3 separate regions of the Homo sapiens genome follow, and regions 2 and 3 are each linked to region 1. The links are contacts of gene promoters, found by promoter capture Hi-C in human tissues and cell types (Jung and others, 2019). All regions are on one chromosome and are shown on one strand. The core of a region is centred on a gene start or on the middle of the fragment in contact, and the rest is flanking DNA. Distances in the headings are between cores, read along the strand shown. Region 1 holds the start of HCN3 (hyperpolarization activated cyclic nucleotide gated potassium channel 3). Region 2 holds the start of YY1AP1 (YY1 associated protein 1). Region 3 has its middle 13 kb from the start of MSTO1.

What was found. The method cuts DNA at HindIII sites, captures the fragments that hold promoters and counts their contacts. A contact is called where the count stands out against the background at its distance.
Region 2: the fragment with the promoter of YY1AP1 here is called in contact with the fragment with the promoter of HCN3 in region 1 in 2 of the 25 tissues and cell types used here (adrenal gland and spleen).
Region 3: a contact is called between a fragment that was not itself captured here and the fragment with the promoter of HCN3 in region 1, in 2 of the 25 tissues and cell types used here (aorta and dorsolateral prefrontal cortex).

The regions. Positions count from the first base shown.
Region 1 is chr1:155,275,593-155,280,550 of GRCh38, forward strand. It overlaps HCN3 (hyperpolarization activated cyclic nucleotide gated potassium channel 3), which reads left to right and starts at 1,871. Exons shown (of 8, transcript NM_020897.3): 1 at 1,871-2,276. The coding sequence starts at 1,999. The HindIII fragment of the contact is 20,767 bases long and covers 1-4,958 here.
Region 2 is chr1:155,686,132-155,691,089 of GRCh38, forward strand. It overlaps YY1AP1 (YY1 associated protein 1), which reads right to left and starts at 2,643. Exons shown (of 11, transcript NM_139119.3): 1 at 2,528-2,643; 2 at 1,940-2,070. It overlaps DAP3 (death associated protein 3), which reads left to right and starts at 2,960. Exons shown (of 13, transcript NM_004632.4): 1 at 2,960-3,043. It also overlaps the pseudogene LOC124904430. RefSeq lists enhancers at 2,049-2,683, 3,059-3,108 and a silencer at 2,519-2,568. The HindIII fragment of the contact is 25,099 bases long and covers 1-4,958 here.
Region 3 is chr1:155,621,218-155,626,175 of GRCh38, forward strand. It overlaps the pseudogene LOC100419798. Among named protein-coding and RNA genes, the nearest start is that of MSTO1, 13 kb to the left of the region's middle. The HindIII fragment of the contact is 8,414 bases long and covers 1-4,958 here.

The sequences.
Region 1 (4,958 bases), core at 621-3,120:
AAAGGTCAATTGAAAGAGAAATAATATAATCTGAGAATAACGATATTAAAGTCAGGGAGCTGAGCAAGGTGGCTCACACCTGTAGTCCCAGCTACTCAGGAAACTGAGGTGGGAAGATTGCTTTGAGGCTGCAGTGGGTCATGATCACACCACTGCACTCCAGCTTGAGCAACAGAGCAAGACCCTGACTCTAGAATGAGTAAATAAATAAAGTCAGGAAATATTAGAGAGGAGCTGGATGAAGGATGGTCAGATGGAGGTTAGATCAGATAACCAGACATAGTTTAGAGAAGTTCCCTGGAATAGAACATGGAGAGCAATCAATGAAGGAGTCGGGGAGAGAGAAGTAAAGATTTCACTTCCACCTCCTGGAACATTTTCCTAGATTATTAATTCATTCAACAAGCATTTACTGAATGTCCACTATGTGTCCAGAATTATGCCAGGTGCAAGGTTCCTGTTTCTCAGAGTTTCACAATCTAACAGGAGAGAAAATCTGTAAATAAATAATGAGACCATGCTCATGCCTGTAATCCTAGCACTTTGGGAAGCCAAGGCAGGAAGATCACTTGAGCTCTGAGTTCAAAACCAGCCTGGGCAACATAGTGTGACCTCATCTCTAAAATAATAATAATAATGGTAGCCCTGTGACATGAGTTGCTCAAAACAGTGGTGCCCTGGCTGCTGTAAAAAAGCTCTAGAATAGACCCTACCTGAGGAAAGGAGAGTTGGAAATGTGTTCCTAGGTTTCCTAGAGAAAGCAAGATCTGAACCAACTGTTCGAAAGTGAATTGGAGGAGAATACCAGGCAGAGAAAATATTTGCAAAAGCATAGAGACAAGGCAGCACAAAGTCTTTCAGCATGATTGGGGCTGTGGCTTTCAAGAGAGGGACTGTCAGAAGAGAGACTGTTGAAACTAGGTCCAAATTTTTTGGGCCTGGTACACCATGCTAAGCAGCTTAAATGTACCCCTGTAGAAGATGGGAAAGCTTGATGGGCTTCAAGCAAGTGACACAGCCATAGTTGGATTTTAGGAAGGTAACTGGCAGGGAATGGAAGAAGAATTGGCCTGGAAGAGGTTGAAGACTCTTTTAGAGGTTTCCGAAGTAATTTAAGTGAAAAAATGCTGAGGGCTTGAAATGAGGCAGTGGTAATAAGAATTGGAGATGAAGGGGAGAATTTGAGATATTTAGGAATTTGTAGCACTTCGCATAGCACTGCAATTTACCTGTCTGTCGTTGGGCACAGATGAGCAGTGGCTTTATGGCTAGGCCTTTGTTTTTGTTTTGTTTTGTGTTGTTTTCCATTACTACATGGAGATGCTAAGACTAGGACTTTTGTATTCATTTTTGTTTCCTCAGCATCCACTCAATGACAGGCAGAGTTGCACTTGGTGAAGGCTGACAGAATGAATTAGGAAATTAAATACTAGGGGAAGCAGTTCGGAGGAGACCAAAAGACAAGAATATGCCTAGGACAGTGTTGAGAGAAGACGGGAGCAGGACAGAAGTCCCTGGGCGAGAGTGGAGAAGAATCCCAAAAGCCATTTCCACTTCTTCCATTGGTCCCCAATCCCTCTCCCTCCCAAGTCCTTCAAGCTACAAACCCGCGTCCGATTTTCCCGCCACTGCAGGGGGCTCCTCCTCCCTGGTTCTCAGTGGATGAAAGGCCAACGCTAGGCCACGCCCTCTCCCTGGCTCAGGCTGCGCTCCCCGCCTTCTTTGCTAAGCCACGCCCCTCTCGGAGTTCCTCCAGGATCCCGGCGTCCCAGCCCCGCCCGGTCTTGGCGCGGCCCTCGCCAGGGGGCGCCGCGCAGCCCGCCCGCCGCCCGCCAGTCTAGCACACACCCCCTCCGCCCCGCGCGCCGGCGATTCCGAGCCTACGACGCCTCCGCTAGAGCCCGCGGGGCTGCGCCGACTCCTGCTCTGGAGGGGTTGCGGGTACCTGATGGCCACAGAGGGCTCTAGGAGGCCGAGCGTGTAAGCGGGGTGGGCGCCATGGAGGCAGAGCAGCGGCCGGCGGCGGGGGCCAGCGAAGGGGCGACCCCTGGACTGGAGGCGGTGCCTCCCGTTGCTCCCCCGCCTGCGACCGCGGCCTCAGGTCCGATCCCCAAATCTGGGCCTGAGCCTAAGAGGAGGCACCTTGGGACGCTGCTCCAGCCTACGGTCAACAAGTTCTCCCTTCGGGTGTTCGGCAGCCACAAAGCAGTGGAAATCGAGCAGGAGCGGGTGAAGTCAGCGGGGGCCTGGATCATCCACCCCTACAGCGACTTCCGGTATTGGGGGCTTGGCGGGGAGGGCAGGGTACATCAATCCCACCCTCGCGGGCAGCGACACCGGGACCCGGCCCGCCCCACCCTCCACGGTCACTTCATTTCCAGCCCGGGGTCCCTTGGTGGGGCGGGAGAGTCACTTGCACCAGTCTAGCCTGGGAATTCCTGGGCGGGTATCCCCTGCCGGAGGTCCTCCGTGCCTGGACAGGCTGGGGGCACCAGAAGGGGCAAGCAGACATCAGGGGATCTCCAGAGACCTGGATTTCCTCTTTCAGGAACCCGGGACCCCATCCGGACCAAAGGAACTACCAGAGTTTGGGACCCCTGCCTCCTCCAGTCCTGCTTGCTGGAGATCTAGGAAATTATATTCTAAGTATCGGGGCCAGTCTGAGGGAGAAGCCGAGCTCCGCCATCTCCCATCCCCACACCCGCTCCTTAGCACCTGCCTAGTTCAGCATGACAGACTACCAGGAAAAATAGGGACGCTGAAGGGGGCGGGGGGTCCAGACCTCAGCTCTGGTCGCTGTCCCTAGTGCTGAAGGCGGGGGCGGCGGGGCGGGGCCGAGACTCAGAGTGACTGAGGCGGCAAAGCAGGGGCAGGACCACCACCCAGGTGACTCCCAGAGAAGGAACAGAGGGTGGGGGTGGGGCCATTTCACAGTCTCCGTCAGGGTGTACCTCTACATCAAGGTCGCTAGGGGAAGACAGCAGCCCTGTCCTTGGGGGAAATGAAGGACAGCTCTTGGATGAGGCAGGGATGTGTGCAAAGCACCTAACCTGGGGAACTAAAGAAGCAGAGAGGAAGAGGTGTGAATCTGGAGCCTCGAAATACAGTTGTAGACCCAGACATTATCTTGAATCCACATATATACACACTCCCTCTATGTCTCTCTTCCTCCCATTGTTCCTTTCACTCCTGTCTTTGCTGCCTCGTTCCCACCCAGCCAGTGCGCCTTTTCTAGTCTCCTGTGGATCTCACTCTCTTCCCTCAGTTCACTCGCAGACGGATCCCCAGAAGCCTGGTATCCCTCTGATTGTGCTTCTCCATTCTCTATACTACATCACCCGCCAGGCTTGTGACCCACCTGTGAGTCAGGCTGTGAAGATGCTTTCATGGCTAGGCGAACCCTCTTTCCCTCCCCTCTCTTAGTGTCTCACAATACAGGATTCCTCCTCAGCAGCCGAGGAGAGAAAAGAAGAATGGCCGAGGGTTTTTGTTTATTGAAAACATACAGTCTAAGGGGCTTCCCAGAGGCCCGGACTTGAGGAAGTTTCTTTCAGGGCTGAAAATTGATTTTGCAGTCCGAGTCAGAAGGGGCTAGCTCCTGAGTTGACACTGGGATTAGGTGTGTCCTAGAATTAAAACCACCATAGGTAACTGAGTCCCTGAGATTTTCCTGTGCCATTCTCTGAATGAGGGCTTCACACAGTTCCCTCTTGACCTCTTCTTTCCACGGTGTCTGCCACAGCAATGTCACTCACCCCTGCCCATGCCTCTGCCTGTGCTCAGCCAGAGTCCCAGTGGACACAGGGAGGCCAGAGGAGGAAAGGTATGCAGAACTCAAGCCTTGCTGCTTCATGATCTCCTGTGGAGCTTCTCTGTGTGTGCAGCCCTGTTTGAGGTTCTGTGGAGGGGGAAGGGCATCCCTGGAAAGCTCAATTCAGAGGAAGGCAGGATAGACCACCCCACCCTGAGACATGGATGAGCAAACCTCAGCAGAGGAACAGGATCCGTGGGTCCAACTGTGTTGGAGAAGAGGAATGGGGTGGAGAAGGCTGGGGAGGGCATGAGGTCCTAGACTAGAATGGGCAGATAACTGGAGATGGGGGAAGCAGCAGCCTTTTCAGAAATCTGGGGATAAAGAGTGAGTGAGTCATAATACCAACTAGTGCCTGTACCACACTGTCACATCTATTGTCTCCATGTAAATGTTTTCAGCAATGCTGTGAGATTAGCACAGGATACTTTAGCTTTTTTTTTTAACCTTAAAAATATTTAGCAATGGTGAGGTAAATGATATATAGTAGGGATATGTATGTAGATGGAAGAGTAATTTTATTTATTTATTTATTTATTTTTATATTTGTTTATTTATTTTGAGAAGGAGTCTCACTGTGTCGCCCAGGCTGGAGTGCAATGGCACAATTTTGGCTCACTGCAACCTCCGCCTCCCGGGTTCAAGCGATTCTTCTGCATCAGCCTCCTGAGTAGCTGAGATTACAAGCGCATGCCACCACGCCTGGCTAATTTTTGTATTTTTAGTAGACGTGGGGTTTCACCATTTTGTCCAGGCTGGTCTCGAACACTTGACCTCGTGATCCACCCACCTCAGCCTCCCAAAGTGCTGGGATTACAGGTGTGAGCCACCACACCGGCAAATTTTTATTTATTTATTTATTTTATTTATTTATTTATTTTGAGACAGAGTCTCACTCTCGCCCAGGCTAGAGGGCAGTGGAGCGGTTTCAGCTCACGGCAACCTTCACTCCCAGGTTCAAGCAATTCTCCTGCCTTGGCCTCCTGAATATCTGGGATTGGGATTACAGGTGCGCGCCACCACACCTGGCTAATTTTTTTTTTTTTTTTTTGAGACGGAGTCTCGCTCTGTCGCCCAGGCTGGAGTGCAGTGGCACAATCTCGGCTCACTGCAAGCTCCGCCTCCCGGGTTCACGCCATTCTCCTTC
Region 2 (4,958 bases), core at 1,393-3,892, 410 kb after region 1:
TCACGCCATTCTCCTGCCTCAGCCTCCCCGAGTAGCTGGGACTACAGGCGCCCGCCACCACGCCCGGCTAATTTTTTGTATTTTTAGTAGAGACGGGGTTTCATCCTGTTAGCCAGGATAGTCTCGATCTCCTGACCTCGTGATTCGATCTCCTGACCTCGTGATCCGCCCACCTCGGCCTCCCAAAGTGCTGGGATTACAGGTGTGAGCCACCGCGCCCTGCCGAAATCAGTCTTTCAAAGGATTCCTTCAGCCCAGCCAAGAAGTTCCAACATCCACAGGCACATATATTAACAATTACCAGTACCCAAAAACAGTTCTCTGGTTTTAATTCCACACTGCCTCCCTCAACTTAATACCTACCACCGTCAAAACAACTCCCCTCAGATTGCATCCAGGCTATTTACAGAGACACCTTGATGATCCTCACCTCAAGGCATGGACCATTCATTGAATGGTTATATTTGTTGAATGAGTGAAAAAGGATCCTTCCTCCCACAGATTTCAAGTTAAGCTGTCAGCACCCATGCAGCTGCTCTGGTACAAGTTAAGCTGTGAAAGCCTTCTCCCTCACGCATACAACCTTAAGTGTCAGAAATGCTCTGCTTCCTCCATAAATCCAAAATAATATAGCCATGGATATGCATTTCATACAGGTCAGACTCGGCAAGGACAGCTACGTTCCACATACATATCTGACACAATCGGTCTCCCCCAAATACAAGCCAACCAGTCTTATGTGCTCCTATCTTTCCAGCATACTCAGATTTGCCGACAAAGACTTCCTGAGGCACCATGGTATGCTGAATATACTGCTGCAGTAGTAGTGAAAATATGGGAGTTACAGTTCCAACTTTGTCACCAATTTAACATGCGGCCTTGGAGAAGTTCTCTCCTTATGCCTAAATTTCCTATTTTGTAAAATGGAAGAAAGCATCCTACCATTTTCACAGAGATTCAGTATCACAAAGAAACTGAAAGAGCTTTCTTATTGTATTGTAAACTATTACTATAAACCCGCGACAACAAATAAGGCCACCCATTCTTTACAGCTTTGTAGCAATGATTCTGTTAAAGATATTTTGGCCCTTCACATTTACACAACTCACTCTAACCAAAGGCACAAACTATTCTTAAGACCACAACTGGCTATGCCAAGTTTCTCCCCTCCCTGACCTCACAGACACATGCTGTACAGAACACTACCATTGCCGCTCTTTCCCAACAAGTAACTAGGGGCTCCCAATCCCTAAAATACACACACATATCAACCTGCAAGGAACCTCCCAACATTTATTCAAGAAATAAGCTAACTTATAAGGGGAACTCCATTACACTTACACAAATAAAGGCAAACTCTTACGGAAACACTTGCCATCCTCACATACACACACCAACACAGCCGCTACACACCAACAGACCATCTGTCTGCTAGACCAAAAACATCTCTTTCCATGTACAAACTAACCAGTGACATTTATTAAACGTACAACACTGAGATCATCCTGTCGTTCCCACATACCGTTCAACGCGGCAGGGACACCACAGACCTTGTCACACAGGTAAAATCCCCTCTCAAGATCGTGTCCTCGACCACTCTTATCCCTTAATTAAACACACACAAACTGGACTATGGGGGAGGCTCCGATCATGCCTACAAACACAAACTAACCTGTCAGGGGCACAGCCGACTCCGCCTCCACTCGCTTACTTCCCAGCCCCCTCCGGGAGTCTGCCTGTCAGGGACACCCCTTCACCCCGCCTGGAGGGACTTCCCGGTAGGCTCAGGATCCCCCTCCCTGCTCTCCCCTCCCCCATCTTCACCACTGCTCTCCCAGAGGTCCAGGTCCGGGAGATGACAGTGGCTCCCAGAAAGCCCAGGATTCAATCGCTGAGAGAGTGCTTAGGCCCGAATGCCGGCCCAAATCGTTCTACTCACCGTGTCGGAGGCCGAGAGCGATGAGAGTACAGGGAAGTGAGGAAGAGGGGGTGGCCGCCAGGCTCCTCCGCTTCCCTGGGTCCACCGCGGATCCCTCCCGCTTGTCAGGAGGCGGCCAGCGGGTAAGCCGACTGGCGGAAATGCGAGAGAGGAGAAGGGAAAGGTGGAGGGCTAAAGGGGCAAACTGAGAGGAGGCGGATCCCGCAACCGACACTGGGATCGTTTCCCCTCGCAAAGCGAACCCAAAATGGCGGCGGCAGCGGCGGCAGCAGAGTGGCCGCGGCAGCTCCTCCAGAGGGAGGGAGCTAAGGGCGCCTAGCGACACCCCCAACCTCCCACTCCTCCCTCCTCGCGTTCTTCCCCACGGTCCCCCGCTTCGCCCGACTCCGGCCATGTAGCGCGCACGTCAGCCCGCACGCGTACGAGTGTCTACGGGCTCGTCGCTGGCTGCTCCCACCAACCACCACCTTCGGCCGTCCTGCGAGCCAGCCATCCCGTACGCGCTCACCCACGGGAACCTCCTCGCCCAGTTCTCCACTCCCCCTCAGACCCTGTCAAGCCGGCTCCAGCGCAGGCCCTCACGCGTACCTTCAGCGGCGCGAGCCCAAGCCTTCTCCACCTCCTCTTCTCTCCTCCCCCTCCCTCCCCGCCCGCACGGCCACCAACCGCCGCCAAAGCAGCCGCCGCCAGCACCCCCACCCTACACTCCTCGCGCGTGCGCCTCCCACAGTCCCCACCGCGGGACTGTTCCATTCCTGGCGGCTGCAGGGGCAGGAGAGGAAGGGACCGGCAAAGCGAGTCTGGCTTGCCGTTTGACTGGAATTGCCAGGGTGGCCGGCCGAGTCCCATGACAACCTACCTCCCTGGGTTCGTCGCCGCGGCGCTGCGGCTCGCCTCCTCCTCCATGGGACCGCGGCGAGGGGATCGAGGGCGGCCTAGCGCCCCTCTGCCGGCCGGTGGTTGGAGGCCGCGGCGGCTGCGCGTTGAGTCGTTTCCTGCCGGATGACCCGACCCTTTTTTGCAGTCTCAGGACGGGCGCTTTGGAGCCGGCCCCAGGCAGCGTGTGTCGGTCGCCTAGTCTGGAGAACTAGTCCTCGACTCACGGTGAGGGAATGGACCGACACGGGTATTGTACCGCTGAGGGAAAGGAGCGGGACTCCGGACCTCCAGGAGGTAGGGAGTGAGGCCGGTAGACCGGCGCGCCTCCGGGGGGGATTCCTCCCGGGCGTTGAGTTGCCAACCTGGGACCCGAGGAAGTTCGGCGTGGTGGTGTGCTTTTTGTTGTTGTTAACCCTCCTCGGATTTCTCGAATTTCACACCACTGTCCATATGCGATGATGTTTGTTTGCCCTTGACGCACTTACTCATGGATGGTACTTCAGCCTCGTTAGACAGCCTGGTGATGGAGGATGAAGAAACCATGTGCTTCTCATTCAGTTCTGGACTCAGTTTCCCTTGTCTTCAGCAAGTTATTTTTGTTAGTTCCTTATCAAAAAGTGTACATAAAAATTAGGCAACTCCAAACATGCCTCCAGGGTTGGTGTGTGAAATAATAAGATAGGGCTGGGCGCGGTGGCTCACGCCTGTAATCCCAGCACTTTGGGAGGCCGAGGCAGGTGGATGACAAGGTGAAGAGATCGAGACAATCCTGGCCAACATGGTGAAACCCCGTCTCTACTAAAAATACAAATATTAGCCGGCCGTGGTGGCGGGCGCCTGTAGCCCCAGCTACTCGGGAGGCTGAGGCAGGAGAATTGCTTGAACCCGGGCGGCGGAAGTTGCAGTGAGCCGAGATCGCGCCACTGCACTCCAGCCTGGCGACAAAGCGAGACTCCGTCACACACACACACACACACACGAAATAATAATATATGTAAAGTGGAATTAGCTCCTAGGCATAGGGAAGGTGCAGAGTATTGCCGTGTTGTCATTTACAGTTCTGTTGATGTCGATAACGTTTGTGGGTGTAATGGGTAGTGTTCTGTCCCTCCAAGTCGTTAATAAAACAAAGCAGGCCGGGCGTCTTGTTAAATAGTTGTATCAATGACTTGATTTAGATTAATGAGGATATATTTTTCAAATTTATGCCTTTTACAAAATTTTTAAAGAGTAGGTAATGTCGGTGATAGATATAAAGAAAGGAAAAGATCTCCAGATGTGGAATCTTCTACTGGATCCTGTAACAGAAAGAAGACATTAGGCTGGGCGCAGTGGCTCACACCTGTAATCTCAGCACTTTGGGAGGCGGAGGAGGGCGCATTGCTTGAGCCTAGGAGTTCGAGACCAGCTTAGGCAACACGGTGAAACCCCATCTCTACAAAAAGACACAAAAATTAGACAGGTGTGGCACACGCTTGTAGTCTGAGCTACTTGGGAGGCTGAAGCAGGAGGATTGAGGAAGAGGTTGCAAAGTTAGCCGAGATCACGCCATCACACTGCAGCCTAGGTGACAGAGCGAGACCCTGTCTCAAAAAAAGAAAGAAGACATTAGCAGAAAAGCTGAGGAAATGCAAATAAAGTCTGCAATTTTTAAATAGTATTGTACCAGCTTTAATTTCTTAATTTTGAAAATTGTACCATGGTCATATGTATGTAACATTAAGGAAACTCTAATGAAAATTGTAAGAAAGCACTTTGTACTACCTTTGCAACTCTTCTGTAAATTTACACTTTTTTTTGTTTGTTTGCTTTGAGATAGGATCTATGTCGCCAAGGCTGGAAGGCAGTAGTGCAGTCCTGGCTCACTGCAACCTCAAGCTCCTTGGCTCAAGGGATCCTCCCACCTCAGCCATCTGAGCAACTAGGACTACAGGCACATGCCACCACATCCAGCTAATTTATTTTATTTTTTTTTTGAGACGGAGTCTCGCTCTGTCACCCAGGCTGGAGTGCAGTGGCGCGATCTCGGCTCACTGCAAGCTCCGCCTCCCGGGTTCGCGCCATTCTCCTACCTCAGCCTCCTGAGTAGCTGGGACTACAGGCACCCGCCACCACGTCCAGCTAATTTTTTGTATTTTTA
Region 3 (4,958 bases), core at 774-3,273, 350 kb after region 1:
GGGGTTTCACCATGTTGGCCAAACTGGTCTTGAACTCCTGACCTCAAGTGATCCACCTGCCTCGGCCTCCCAAAGTCCTTGGATTACAGATGTGAGCCACCACACCCAGCCTTAATTATCTCTCTCTCTTTTTTTAATCCTGTTTACCTCTCTTCGGATGCTCTAGGGGCCCTCTGTAGCTGTAGCATTCAAAAGCCAGGGGTCAGGAAAGAGAATCTTGCAACTGAAATTTGATTTTGGGAAGCCTGTTGAATATGTTACAGGTTTTTGTTTTTGTTTGTTTTTGAGACAGAGTTTTGCTCTTGTTGCCCAGGCTGAAGTGCTGTGGCACAATCTCGGCTCACTGCACCCTCTGCCTTCCAGGCTCAATCTATTCTCCTGCCTCAGCCTCTTGAGTAGCTGGGATTACAGGCATGCGCCACCACGCCCAGCTAATTTTGTATTTTTAGTAGAGACAGGGTTTCCCCATGTTGGTCAGGCTGGTCTCCAACTCACGACCTCAGGTGATCCACCTGCCTCGGCCTCCCAAAGTGCTGGGATTATAGGCGTGAGCCACCATGACTGGCCCTTACAGGTTTAAAACTCTTGATATTATGAAATAGAATTTTAGATTACCATAAGTCATTTGTTTTGCCAAAAGGATGACTCAAAAATTTGAAAAAGCAAAATGCTTTGATTAGCCTTTACTATTACATAAAAATCCTGTTCAAGAGAGAAAGCCAAATTTTACCCTTGCATAAGTCTGCTATTAATGTTAACCCCAATTTTAATGAAATCCTATAGACAATTCTATTTAATCTTTTTTTTTTTTTTTTTTTTTGGCAGTGGCAAGATTTATTAAAGTGAAAGTAAAGTTTCCACATGGTGGAAGGGGACCTGAAAGGGCTGCCATTTTTGGCTTGGGTGTCTTATACTTATATCCCCTTATGACCCCTCCCCTTTTTCTTTTTCTGTCCTATAGAATTAGCTTATTTTCTATCCACTTGTGGGTAGGTGGGCATGATTGGTTAAAAACATCAGGCTGCAGCTAGAGCTTAAACTCCCTATATGATTGGTTGAAGGTTCAATCCCTTAGTTTGCAGCTATAACTCATTTTGGCTTAGGGGAAAGTTCCCTTAGGGAAGTCCCTATTGACCCAGGAAGTCCAGCCAACTTAGCCACTTAGTCCCTCAGTCCCTCCTCTCAAAAGGAAAGCCCAAGTGCCGTTGGGAAGTTGGGCAACAATCATTCTAGCTACTTCCTGCTGAGCTGGGGTGTAGAAGGGGCTCTGCAGTTGAGCCTTCCTCAGGAGGGGAGTCTTCAGTGTCATGGTGCAAGAACAGATTGGTGGGTCAGTCTAGGGGTCCTCGATAGCAGGTGCTAGTGGTGGTCATTTGGGGCTCCATCTGTAGAATCATTTGCAGTTTCATGGATTCTATTCTGGAAGAGACAAATTTTACAAGGAGGTTAAAAATGCAGGGTCCAGAGATAAGCAACATCACAATAGCCACCAAGGGTCCCAAGAAGGGGAGAAACCAGGGCATCCATTGGTTGACAATACTCCAAAGTCCTGTGTCTTGGAGCTCTTGTGCCTGGCACTGTATCTGGTCTCGAAGCTCCTTAACCTTTTTTGGTGACAATTCTGTATTGATTAACAAAATAGTAACACTCTTCTCCTAGAAAAAGACAGGTTCCACTTCTTTCAGCTGTTAATAAATTTAAGGCTTTCCAATTCTGGAGGGCTACTGCTGCTAAAGAGTTAAGCTAGCTTTGTAAGGTGACCAGTGAATCTGCAACTCGTTCCATGTCATCATTTAACTCTTGTGATAATTTGTAATATGTTGGGGTGATCAGACCCAACACCAGGCTGTGGGGGCTACGAAGTCCGGCGGAGTCAAAGGAATGAGATAAGTTAAGAGTGCAAGAAGTGGGACCAGGGGGTCAATGCTAGTATGGAGGCTGTGAAGGCCCTGAGCTCTTGAAGCCTGCACTATTTATTGGTGATCAAACAAAGAAGCAGGTGGTGAGGATGTGGGGGTTCAAAGAAAGCAGTGTATCAAGTGTGTGATCTACAGCTGTGACAGTTTAGCATTTTCTTTGAAGCATATGGAACATGTTCTGCTACTTGAGATAATGGGGAACATGTTCTTCTAGTTTAAGACACAATCGATCTATGAGCCTGGGAGGGCTAGAAACAAGGAGCCAGCAAATCTAGACACATTCCAGAGGCCACAAGGGGTTTTATGCCCTGAGCCCTGGATTCCATTCAAGCCATGAGGGGTTTTATGCCCTTGGCTTAGAGTGTGGTGCAGCAGGGCAGCCTTTCACCCTTTGGCACAGAGCTTGGTGTTCCAAAGGCCACAAGGGGTTTTAGACCCTGGACCCTGGACCCTGGACCTGTTCTAAGACTCTTTTACATTATATCAGACATGCAAGCCCTGCCTCAGCTTTTTCCCCAACACTCAGCTTTTTTCCCAACACTCAGCTTTTCCCCAACAGTAAGAGAATTGGGTGGAGGTGGTAATGCCTCCAATGCCAGTTCCTAGACCTCCTAGTATCCTAGCCCTGAAAATGAATGGCAGGATAGTCGAGGTATGCTGAGATGCTGGGTTTGACAGATCTTTAAAGGCAAATAAAAATTGCGAGTTAGGATGCAGAGGGATGCAGAAGAAAGCGTCCATAAGATCTAGGACTGTAAACCATTCTGCTTCCTCTGGTATCTGGGAGAGTAGAGTATAAGGATTAGGTACAACTGGATTGTTGGGAACAAGCCCCTCCAAATCTGGTCATAAACTGGCCCCAAAACTGGCCATAAACAAAATATCTGCAGCACTGTGACATGTTCATGATGGCAATAAAGCCCATGCTGGAAGGTTGTGGGTTTACCGGAATGAGGGCAAGGAATACCTGGCCCACCCAGGGCAGAAAACCACTTAAAGGCATTCTTAAGCCACAAACAATAGCATGAGTGATCTGTGCCTTAAGGACATGCTCCTGCTGCAGTTAACTAGCCCAACCTATTCCTTTAATTTGGCACATCCCTTCATTTCCCATAAGGGATACTTTTAGTTAATTTAATATCTGTAGAAACAATGCTGATGACTGGCTTGCTGTTAATAAATACGTGGGTAAATCTCTGTTCAGGGCTCTCAGCTCTGAAGGCTGTGAGACCCCTGATTTCCCACTTCACACCTCTATATTCTGTATGTGTGTCTTTAATTCCTCTAGTGCTGCTGGGTTAGGGTCTCCCTGACCAAGCTGGTCCTGGCACTGGATACAGGGGAACAACTGCCTCAATGATAATTCAGAGGTCTTTCACTAACCTCCACTGTCTGTTGGGTTTTTGTATGCCTAGAATAGGACTGTTGCCTGGACTGTTGCATGGCTTTACTAATCTCTGTGCTTGTAGGTCTTTGACAATCTTTTGTAACCCTTGTTGGGCTTCTGGTCAGAGGGGGTACTGCTTTGATAAGGAAAGAAAGTAGGATCCTTTAATTTAACTTGAACTGGACAAGCATTTTTTGCTTGTCCATACTGCTCTTGCTCTTCCTCTGCCCAGACTTCAGGATTAACTCCCTCCTTGAGTAGGGCAGCAAACAGGTATTCCTTCTCCTATATTCAAGTATATAATGGCCCCTGCTTTAGCTAATATGTCTCTCCCTAGTAAAGGAGTAGGGCTCTCAGGCATAATAAGAAAGGCATGTGAGAATAATAAGGTTCCCCAGTCACAATTTAGGGGGTGGGAGAAATACCTAGTGACTGAGTGTCCTAAGACCCCTTTGATGGTGAAAGACCTGGAGGATAGTTGTCTGGGACAGAAGAGTAAAACTGACAGGGCCACGCCATTGTCCAGGAGGAAGTTAGTTTCCTGGTCCTCACTGGTTAAGCTTACCTGGGGCTCTGTGATGGTGATGGCATTGGGCTGGTGCCTGCCCTGGGCACCCTCAGTCTTGTTGGACCATCTGGTTAGTGGCCTCTGGCCCAGAGGACCTTCACCCTAAGGGGCAGTGTGCCTTCCAGGGATCTCCCTGGCACAAGGGACATGGACAAGGGGGTGGCTTATTGTTGTTTGGGCAGTCCTTTTTGAAGTGACCCTGTAAGCCACACTGATAACAAGCCCGGTTAGGTGGGTTGCCTGCCCAGCCTTTCTTTCTTTCAGAGCCACTGAAGCTCGTCTGCCTGAGAGCCATGACTAAGGTGGCAGCCTTTTTCTTGTCTCGTCTGTCTCGTTCAGCCTGCTCCTCCTGATCCCTATTATAAAACAACAAATTTGCCAAATTTAATAGAGTTTCCAAATTTTGCTCGGAGCCCAGGGCAGACTTTTGAAGTTTTTTTCTAATGTCTGCAGCTGACTGAGTGATAAACTTATCCTTTAAAATTAGCTGGCCTTCAATAGAGTCAGGTGACAAAGAGGTATGTTTTCTTAATGCCTCCCTTAGCCTCTCTAAAAATGCCGTAGGGTTTTCTTCCTTTCCCTGTGTTATGGTGGACATAATTGAGTAATTCATTGGCTTTTTTCTGGTCTTTCTTAATCCCTCTAGTATACAAGTCAGTAAACGCCTGTGACTCCAGTCTCCATGCTCCGAATCGAGGTCCCAGTGGGGATCCACACTGGGAACTGCCTATTGGCCTGTGGTGAATTGTTCCCTTTCTTCTGATGTCGTTTTATCATTTACCTGGCTTAGGTACCAGAGATCCCCAAACTCCTGGGCCGCAGCTAAGGTGGCCTCTTTTTTGTTAGGAGTTAATGTTTGACCTAAAAACAACAGAATATCTCTCCATGCTAAATCAAAAGATTGTCCTAATCCCTGTAAGACGTCTACATATCCATCAGGTTATCTGAGAATTTTCCTAGGTCCAGTTTGATCTGTTTTAAGCCTGAGAGGGAAAAGGGGACATGTACTTGTGCTGAGCCAAAGTCTCCTCCTCCCACGGCTTGGAGGGGGCACAATCAAGGTCCATTGGTGCCTTTTGGTTCC